Regions from separate parts of the Homo sapiens genome. Here region 2 is linked to region 1. The links are contacts of gene promoters, found by promoter capture Hi-C in blood cells and fetal thymus (Javierre and others, 2016). All regions are on one chromosome and are shown on one strand. The core of a region is centred on a gene start or on the middle of the fragment in contact, and the rest is flanking DNA. Distances in the headings are between cores, read along the strand shown.

Region 1 (5,066 bases), core at 786-3,285:
AGTGATCCTCCTGCCTCAGCCTCCTGAGTAGCTGGGACTACAGGTGCCTGCCACCACGCCCAGCTCATTTTTGTATTTTTTGTAGAGACAGCGTTTCACCATGTTGCTCAGGCTTGATGTGTCATTTTTCAAAAATCAAGCCAGTCCCCTATTTATGAACAATTAGTTTGCTTCCATGCTTTTGCCATTCAAACAGCCCTCAACTGTACCTCTTTCTACGTTTGTCTGTGCACATGGGGGAATACATATGTAAGATAGTTTCCTTGGCCCTGAAGTGCTTAATCAAAGGATTGGTACAAAGGATTAATGTTACATTAACAGATATGCCAGCTTGCCTCCTCATGGAGTTGTAAAAATGTACACTCCCACTTGTAGGTATCACAGCCTGCTTTCCCCAGCCTTGCAAACAGTGTCCCATCACAAGTCATTCTGAATGCTAGTATAGGACACCAAATCTCTCTTTCCTCCTAACAACCTGGCTAGGCAGCCAGGACAGGGATTCCTATTTACTACACTCTGGTTTTATAGGTAAGTAAACAGATTCCCAAGGATAAGGAACCTACTTTTCCCAACCTCAACCTGAATTTCTGGGATTAATACCTTCTAAGAATAGATATGAATGTGTAGTGTTGTAGCAGTAGCAGTAGTATTTAATAGTAGTAGTAGTAGTGTAGTACCATCATCCCCATTCCCCATTCCTCAAGCTGGAAGCCATTCTTTTCTTCACTTCTGGTGGAGATGGGGACAAAAGCTTTGTTTCTTTTTTTTTTTTTTGAGACGGAGTCTCGCTCTGCCACCCACGTTGGAGTACAGTGGCAGGATCTCGGCTCACTGCAACCTCCACCTCCCGGGTTCAAGCAATTTTCCTGCCTCAGCCTCCAAATTAGCTGGGATTACAGGCCTGCAACACCATGCCCAGTTAATTTTTGTTTTGTTTTGTTTTGTTTTTTGAGACAGAGTCTGGCTCTGTCGCCCAGGCTGGAGTGGAGTAGCACGATCTCAGCTCACTGCAACCTCCATCCCCCTAGTTCAAGCGATTCTCCTGCCTCAGCCTCCTGAGTAACTGGGATTACAGGTATGTGCCACTAAGCACAGCTAATTTTTTTTTTTTTTTTTAGATGGAGTTTTACTCTTGTTGTCCAGGCTGGAGTGCAATGGCGCAATCTCAGCTCACTGCAACCTCCACCTCCTGGGTTCAAGTGATTCTCCTGACTCAGCCTCCTGAGTAGCTGGGATTACAGGCATGCACCACCATGGCCGGCTAATTTTGTATTTTTAGTAGAGATGGGGTTTCTCCATGTTGGCCAGGCTGGTATAAAACTCCTGACCTCAGGTAATCCGCCCGCCTCAGCCTCCCAAAGTGCTGGGATTACAGGTGTGAGCCACTGCTCCCGACCCATTTTTTCTTTTTTCTTTTTTCTTTTTTTGTATTTTTAGTAGAGATGGGGTTTCACCATGTTGGCCAGGCTGGCCTAGAACTTCTGACCTCAATTGATTCTCCCATCTTGCCCTCCCAAAGTGCTGGGATTACAGGTGTGAGCCACTGCACCTGCCCAAGAGCTTTGTTTCTATCCTTTCTAGTCCATTCCCTCATAATTTCTGAGCCCCAATCCTTCCCTTCTTCCAACCCTCTTCTCTTTGTTTTCCTACTAGGCCTGCCTTTGCGAAGTCCCACTGTAGATCATAAGGAGGCTGCAAGAACTGATGAGTGGTCCATTTCCTTGCAACCTCTAGAAGCCGGAATATACTTCAGGCAGGGCCTTGTTACCAGAGACAATGTGTAGCAGTTAAGGCCAGAGCCTTCCACTCCACACCACCCAGGAATTGCTATGGCTGTTCTGTGACCTTGGCCAAGTTACTTCTGCTTTCTTCACTGTCCTTATTTGTCAAATGGGAATGCTAGTACTAATCACCTCACAGAGTTGTAGTAAAAACTGCAGGCTGGTGTAGTGGCTCACATCTGTAATACCAGCACTAAGGGAGGCAGAGGTGCGAAGATAGCCTGAGGCCAGGAGTTGGAGACCAGCCTGGCTAATACAGAGAGAACCCCATCTACACACATGCACCTGTGACTGTAAAGACTACGTGACTGTTGCTACTACATTATTATTATTATTAACAGAGGACACTATTAAGAATCCAGCATTGTAATCTGAATACTCATTTTAATCCTTCCAACGATCCCCCAGATCGTTGTCTCATTTCACGAAAGAAAAGGAGCCTCTAATCCCATCCCTACCAGGGTTTGGCAAAGTGGGCAAGTGAGAGGCTCAACCATGAGCTTCAGTTCCTCCTCTGTAAATGGTAACAATGGCACTGTCACAAAGAGGACCAAGTGAGACCACAGGAGGCCCGTGTGTGTGCGTGTGTGTGTGTATGTGCCAGAGACAGAAAGAGAGAGAGAGACAAAGTTTCACTCTTGCTGCCCAGGCTGGAGTGCAATGGTGCAATCTCAGCTCACCGCAACCTCCACCTCCTGGGTTCAAGCAATTCTCCTGCCTCAGCCTCCTGAGTAGCTGGGATTACAGGCATGCGCCATCATGCCCAGCTAATTTTGTATTTTTAGTAGAGATGGGTGAGTTCTCCATGTTGATGAAGCTGGTCTCGAACTCCCGACCTCAGATGATCCGCCTGCCTCGGCCTCCCAAAGTACTGGGATTACAGGTGTAAGCCACCCAGCCCGGGCTTTTTTTTGGGGGGGGACGAGTGTCCCTCTGTTGCACAGGCTGGAGTGAAGTGGCACGATCTCGGCTCACTGCAACCTCTGCCTCCTGGGTTCAAGCAATTCTCCTGCCTCAGGCTTCCAAGTAGCTGGGACTACAGACGCCACCACGCTGGCTAATTTTTGTATTTTTAGTAGAGACGGGGTTTCGCCATGTTGGCCAGGCTGGTCTCGAACCCCTGACCTCGTGGTCCGCCCGCCTCGGCCTCCCAAAGTGCTGGGATTACATGCTTGAGCCACCCCGCCGGCCGGCCGTTCTTAAACGCACGACTACTTCCCTAGCTTTCCAGCACCAAATCCAGCGGCCCCACCCGGCCACGCCCCCACGCCAGGCCATGACCCCCATATGGCTCACTGCGCAAGCTCACACCCAGTCCCAGGAAGCGAGCCCCACGTCGCCCCAGCTCTGCATTCACAGCCGCCAAGCGGTCCCGGAAGCCGAATGCCGGATAGGTCAAAGACAGCGCCGCTGCTCCGGCACTGCCGCCAGAGGGCGCGGAGTCGCCGTGTTGGCCTGCACCTCCCTTGTCACGTCAGCCGAACGGCTACGGCAATGGAGGATTTTGCCGTATGCGACGACAGGATGACTGCTTCCCCTGAAGCTTCACCAAACACGGAGAGGCTTTCCTGTCCCTGGGAGACGCGGTGATGTGACGCAGCGGTTGCAGCGAAGGTTTCTTGTAAAAGATGGCCGCTGCGGAGTTGCTAGGTGTCTCCTGGCAGGCGGCGGCCGCACCACAAGATGGCGGCCCGCCCCAGGGTCCCACACGCGGGGCTGCGGAGGCGGCGGCCCCGAGGGTCCCCGCCCCTTGCTGGCCCTGTCCCCGCGTGCGGGGCTGCGACCTGCCTTTGTGTGCGGGTGGAAGTGCGGGCCGCCTTGGGGCCGAGTTGCAACTTCGCGACACTCCACTGGAGTGCGATGAGACGATGAGATGTTACCTCCTAACACTTCGGGAGGTGGGCAGCATGGCAATTCCTAGTAACCTCAACGCGATTCACTCAGACTTCCTTTTTCCCATCCTGAGCCGCAAAACCAGGAACTGGTGAAATAAATCAGGCCATCTTTCAGAGGAATGGCCTGCCACCGTTAAAAAGAGCAAAGCTGCAGTTTATGTACTAATGTGGAACCAGCTCTGAGATAAATTAAGTGAAAGAAAGCAAAGCACAGGAAAATGTGTATAGATATGCCTTTGTGTTTTTAAACAAGAAGACCCACATAAATGAAGATATGAATGTGTAAGCATAGTATAGCGGTAATGGTAATAGCGATCGCCCAGCCTAAGGAAGGGAATGGAGAGATACGGAACAAGGATGGGAGGAGACAGTTTTCATCTAAGACCGTTGGGTTTTCTGAGCTTTGTACCATGGACAGGTGTTAATTTTAAATTTTTTGTAAATATTTAAATTATGGCTTAAAGACAAGTTCTTTTGTAAGGGTATAAGGGCAGACTAGCACATAGAAAAAAAAAGACTTTTTTAACCTGGAACCAAGACATTTGATAAACATTCATGAAACTCAATTTTCAAGGATAAAAATTTCAAGGTCAATACTGTAGTACTTACAGCAAAGAATGCCAATCATTGTGACAGCCTGAGCCCTCTTGAAAGCTAGTTTTTGTTGGCGGGGGGTCAGAAAATTTGGCCTGGGAAGCAGGAGGCACTCGACCTATTTGCTGATGCTGAATGCCTTTCTACTGTAAGCATACATAGTCTCAATGGCTTCTTCTGATTTTGGTATATCTTAGGCTTTTCGGGTTAATATCGAAAACAGTGGCAACATTGAGAGTTTGAGCCAAGTTCTGCCTTAGAATCATCCAGAAAGGTGTTTCCACTGCCTGAAAAATAAGTAGTAGCAGTTTCAGAATTGGCATTGAGTTTGGAAATCGCCTATTTGAACTTGAAAGAAGTGTTAGTCCTCCATCCTAAAGCAACAACCATACTGAGCCTTTACTAGTGTGCCAGGCACTGGAGAAGAGGGTATTCTTTTTTTTTTTTTTTTTTTTTTTTTCCTGAGACGGAGTTTCACTCTTGTTGCCCAGGCTGGAGTGCAATGGTGCGATCTCGGCTCACTGCAACGTCTGTCTCCTGGGTTCAAGTGATTCTCCTGCTTCAACCTCCCAAGTATCTGGGATTACAGGTGCATGCCACCACACCCAGCTAATTTTTTTTTTTTTGAGATGGAGTCTTGCTCTGTTGCCCAGGCTGGAGTGTAGTGGCATAATCATGGCTCACTGCAACCTCCATCTCCCAGGTTCAAGCGATTCTTCTGCCTCAGCCTCCCTAGTAGCTAGGACTACAGGCACGTGCCACCACGCCCAGCTAATTTTTGTATTTTTAGGGAGAT
Region 2 (4,641 bases), core at 548-3,047, 500 kb after region 1:
ACACTCCAGTTATACTGCTTGAACAAACAAATAACATAAAATTGCTAATTTAAATTCGAATGGAAATAGTAACTGGTTACGTTTCACTCCAAAATTGGGTCAAACAATAGGAAAGGGGGAAAAATCTACTTTTAAAAATGTAATTTAAAAGCAAGATGGGGATATTCATTAGACCTCCTTCACTTTGAGAAAGACAAAAAACAAATTCAGTTTTGGCTTATCTCACCTGAGTCCTTCTGAATAATGCCTGAAACACACTAGCTAAAATCACAGACGATTACTGAGCAATGTTCTCTTTTTACAAGACCCCCAAGACCAGAAACAGTCACTTCCTTTGGAAGTGCCCTGTGGCTGAGGCCATATGGTTAACATGTGGGAACAAGCACAAGCCTTACCCATAATAAAATCAACACCTAAACCCAAATGTGGACCATTATGCCATTCTAAAACAGGTTCTCACGATATGGAAAAATCTAGATGGAGGGGAGCTAGTTGAATTTCGTGTCTCGTTTGTAATTACATCTGTTTCATTAATCCAAGAAATGATGCAGACTACCGCCCGCTGCTGTGGTTTTGGAGGTTTGACAAATTCGTGTTTTTTCTGGTAATGGCGCTTTTAAAGGATCCCAGCAACTTAAATAGTGTTAACTCTTGGAATGTGAGCCCCATCAGCCCCTTTTGGAATGGTAATGTAACACAAGCAACTTAGTATTTAAATGACGATAAAAATTCAAGAATCGGAAAACTATCAAGGATAGGGAGTATAAACTCTAAAAGCTCCCAAGTCTTCCAGCAGTCTCGCCACTCCAAACACAAAGGCTTCTTCAGGAACCCTTTGTTGTTGTTTGTTTGTTTGTTTGTTTGTTTTTTTAAGACGGAGTCTCTCTCTGTTGCCCATGCTGGAGTGTAGTGGCGCGATCTCGGCTCACCACAACCTCGGCCTCCGGGGTTCACGCGATTCTCCTGTCCAGCCTCCCGAGCTGCTGGGACTACATGCGCCCGCCACCATGCCCGGCTAATTTTTTATTTTTAGTACAGACCAACTTTCACCATATTGGTCAGGCTGGTCTCGAACTCCTGACCTCGTGATCCGCCCGCCTGGGACTCTCAAAGTGCTGGGATTACAGGCGTGAGCCACCGCGCCCGGCCTAAGAACCCTTTTCTAAGGCCCCCAAAACCCTTGGCACATGGCCCGCCAGGCGCACGACCCCAGCACATGGCCTGCACGACTATACCCACCCCATCCCCCCTTCATCCGCAGCCGGGAGCCTTTCCCCACCACACGGACTCCTTCCAGTGAGTTCCCGCCAAATCCACCCTCGGTCCCTCATTCCGCGACCCTCGAAGCGTCAGGGCCTCGGCCCCAAGGGCGCACGGGCGGGCCTCCTCTGCCCTAAGCCTGCGGCCTGGGGTGCGGCCGTGGCGCCGAAAGACCCGCATGCTCGGCGACCCAGCTTTCCAGGACGAAGAAAGGACAGAAGTGTCGTCCGACAGCGGTGCGCCAGAAACCCGGGTCCGAGGCGGCGGCAGCAGCCGAGCTTCCCGCCTGACGCAGCAGAGGCGCAGGCCAAAGTGCGGCCGCCATCGCCACCTCGCCGCTCCCTACCCTCTCTGTCCGCCACAGACCCGACCCGCACTGCGGCTCCGTCAGCGCCGGGCCCCTCCCCCAGCCCTCACCTTCCGCGTCGGAGCGGGCCCGCAGCGGCGGAGACTCGGACGCAGGCCTGGGGAAGACGGCTCGCAAGGTAGAGGCTGTTTATTTTGAGGGTCCTTGCCTGCGCCACACGCGGGTCTGCACACGGCCCCACATACGCCGCTGCGCACGGCTCTCCTCCGCCTCGCCCACGCGGCCAATCAGCGCGCGGGGTTCGGCAGTCCAATCAGAGCCGCCCGCGGCAGGGCCGCCCACTAGAGCGCGGCGCGGGGCGGGTGTTTCTGCGCGCAGCGTCTTTTCCCGCCGTGCCCCGCGCGCGGCCTTTCACGCCGGGATCCGGGTCCCGGTGCTTCTCGGTTCATTCCCAGCTGGGTCCGGGCCCGGCCAGACTGGGTGGAAATCTGGCTGACCTTGGTGGTCTGTCTTGGCCAGCTGGAGCAAAGGGATGCCAGGGGACGGGTCTCGGTGCAGTGACTGCCATTAGCTTGGGGCCGCAGAAAGTTTCTCCCCTTTCTCGGGCTCCTGCCAGGCCCTTGGCTTTCAGAGCCAGGCCCGATTTCTAGATAACATTTAAGTTTGCAGAAAAGGGGATGCCAAGTCACGGTGGTCACGGCTGTGGGATGCAGCCTCTGAGATTTGTATTAATTTTTGTGAGCCGGGGAAAGGCCTTGCTGCTTTCTCCGCCAGGACTGATGTGTCTTCCCAAGATGAAAGTGCCTGGTAAGGGCGAGGGGCCTCCCTGGGAAGGTCATGAGCATGTAAGGTAATGGGGCCTAGACTGTGACTTTTGGCACGTTTATGAGTGACATCCCCCGGGAGGGCAAGGATAACCATTTGACCTGGTCTGTCATATTCAGGAATAGACTTCAGTTTAGTTGTGGTATTTTCTCCAAAAGAGATTTGTGTATATAGCCCTAGATAGTCTTGTCAAGATTAAACCCAATTTAAACTGTTAACTATAAAATATTTTAGAATTTTGTCTCATTCTAGAATGGCTTTATTCGAAACAAAAAAAAAGGAAGAGTCCCAAGTTTCGTCTCAGTGAAACCTGCCAGTTCAACACTATGATTTATTTTTCTTTTTTTCTTTAATTTTTTTTTTTTTTAAGAGTAGGGTCTTGCTCTGTCGCTGGGTTTACAGGCATAAGCCACCAATCCCAAATCCCGGGGCTATGATTTTTGAAATCATGTTCGTGAGAAGGCAGAGCACATGTGTTGAGAGTCAGACTTTAAACCTGGGTTCAAATCATTAGTGCTTAATCATTGTAAAGCAGTTAGGAGGTTGCGTTCAACATAGCAATTATCAAAGAATGAATGTATAACTTTAAAGACCAATGATATTTTAAACTTTTTTTTTTTTTTGAGAACGGAGTCTCACTCCGTTGCCCAGGCTGGAGTGCAATGGCACGATCTCAGCTCACTGCAACCTCCGCCTCCTGGATTCAAGTGATTCTCCTGCCTCAGCCTCCCCAGTAGCTGGGATTATAGGCATGCGCCACCACGCCCGGCTAATTTTGTATTTTTAGTATAGGCGGGGTTTCTCCATGTTGGTCAGGCTGGTCTCAAACTCCCGACCTCAGGTGATCCGCCCACCCAAAGTGGTGATCGTCCTCCCAAAGCACTGGGATTACAGGCATGAGCCACCGCGCCTGGCCGAACTTTTTAAATTTATTTATTACTATTTTTTGAGACAGGGTCTCCCTCTGTTGCCCAGGCTGGAGTGCTGTCTCAGCTCACTGCAACCTCCGCTTCCCATGTTTGACCAATTCTGCCTCAGCCTCCTGAGTAGCTGGGACTGCAGGCGCCCACCACCACGCCTGGCTAATTTTTGTATTTTTAGTAGAGATGGGGTTTCATCATGTTGGCCAGGCTGGTCTTGAACTCCTGGCCTCAAGCGGTGCTAGGCCAAAGTGCTAGGATTACAGGTGTGAGCCACTGCACCCAGTGCCCCCAAAGTGCTAGGATTACAGGTGTGAGCCACTGCACTCAGCCTTAAACATTTTTTTAATTAAAGCAACCTAAGGTAAAATTTTTTAACCAAATTTAACCCATTCCCAATCAGATTGAATAAATGCCTAGCAGCTTATGTGTTGTGCTAAAACACGATATATTATCTGCCAATAAAAAACAGTATTTTGTATTTATATAGTTTTATTACCAAGAAGCTTACTCAGCTTTATGATTTCCCCTTTGTAATCTGATTAACCTTCATAGTATCTTGAAGTAATGTATAGTGTAGCAATCAGACACTTAGGTAGTGACTTCGTGAGCTCTGACAATGAGTCAATATAATGCAAGAGGCTATGTATGAAGTCCAACCTGGGTGCGTCCACACCACACCAAGAGGACAAGTTAAAATTACCATATGGCCAAAAATTAATATTTTCTGACTTATTTTTGTTTACCATTCCAACCATAGTACTGTATAAAATGTTTGCTATTCATTATAGACCCAGGAATGGAATATTCCTAATATTAAAACAAAAATTTCAACAGCTATAGAAAATGAAAGTGAGTGTGAGATAGAGATACTGGACATAATGTTCTATAGGTTTTAAAAGACTTAAGTAGAAGAAATGGAAACAATGTCTTTACTTCTTGGCAGTGGAGTGGTAACAGCTAATGGCTCTTTCTACCTGGCATGCAGCTTCCTGTAACGACTATTATTAATAGAGCCAGGCTGATCGTGAGGCGCCAGAAAAGGTGTATGGTGGAATTTAACTACAATGGCTTGTATTGCCTGGATATACCCTTTGGTATGCCTATTTTACTAGAAATGTTTGAAAATAGGAAAAAGCTCACTCAAAAGATAAGCTGCCAGTGGGACTTGAAGAGGCTCCCATTACATTCCTCTTCCCTGGAGATGTTTTATTCCCCTCCTCTCCTCCAGTGTTCAGTCTCATGCTCAGCATTGCAAGGGTTACAAAGGTGACTACTTAAGACACAGAGTTTGCCCTTGAAGAACTTGCAGGATAACAAGGGCCATAA

Evidence for each region. Contacts are between HindIII fragments. The CHiCAGO score rates a contact against its expected background, and 5 or more counts as called.
Region 2: the fragment with the promoter of CNBP here is called in contact with a fragment that was not itself captured in region 1 in 1 of 17 cell types (naive CD4 T cells); the score reaches 6.0 in naive CD4 T cells.

Annotation. Positions count from the first base shown.
Region 1 is chr3:128,677,664-128,682,729 of GRCh38, forward strand. No RefSeq gene overlaps it. Among named protein-coding and RNA genes, the nearest start is that of RPN1, 29 kb to the left of the region's middle. RefSeq lists enhancers at 2,857-3,549, 3,024-3,153, 3,264-3,433 and a silencer at 3,494-3,713. The HindIII fragment of the contact is 2,573 bases long and covers 750-3,322 here.
Region 2 is chr3:129,182,099-129,186,739 of GRCh38, forward strand. CNBP (CCHC-type zinc finger nucleic acid binding protein) reads right to left here and starts at 1,798. Exons shown (of 5, transcript NM_003418.5): 1 at 1,678-1,798. LOC105374101 (a long non-coding RNA gene) reads left to right here and starts at 1,976. Exons shown (of 2, transcript XR_924469.3): 1 at 1,976-2,374. RefSeq lists an enhancer at 2,132-2,221. The HindIII fragment of the contact is 13,108 bases long and covers 1-3,816 here.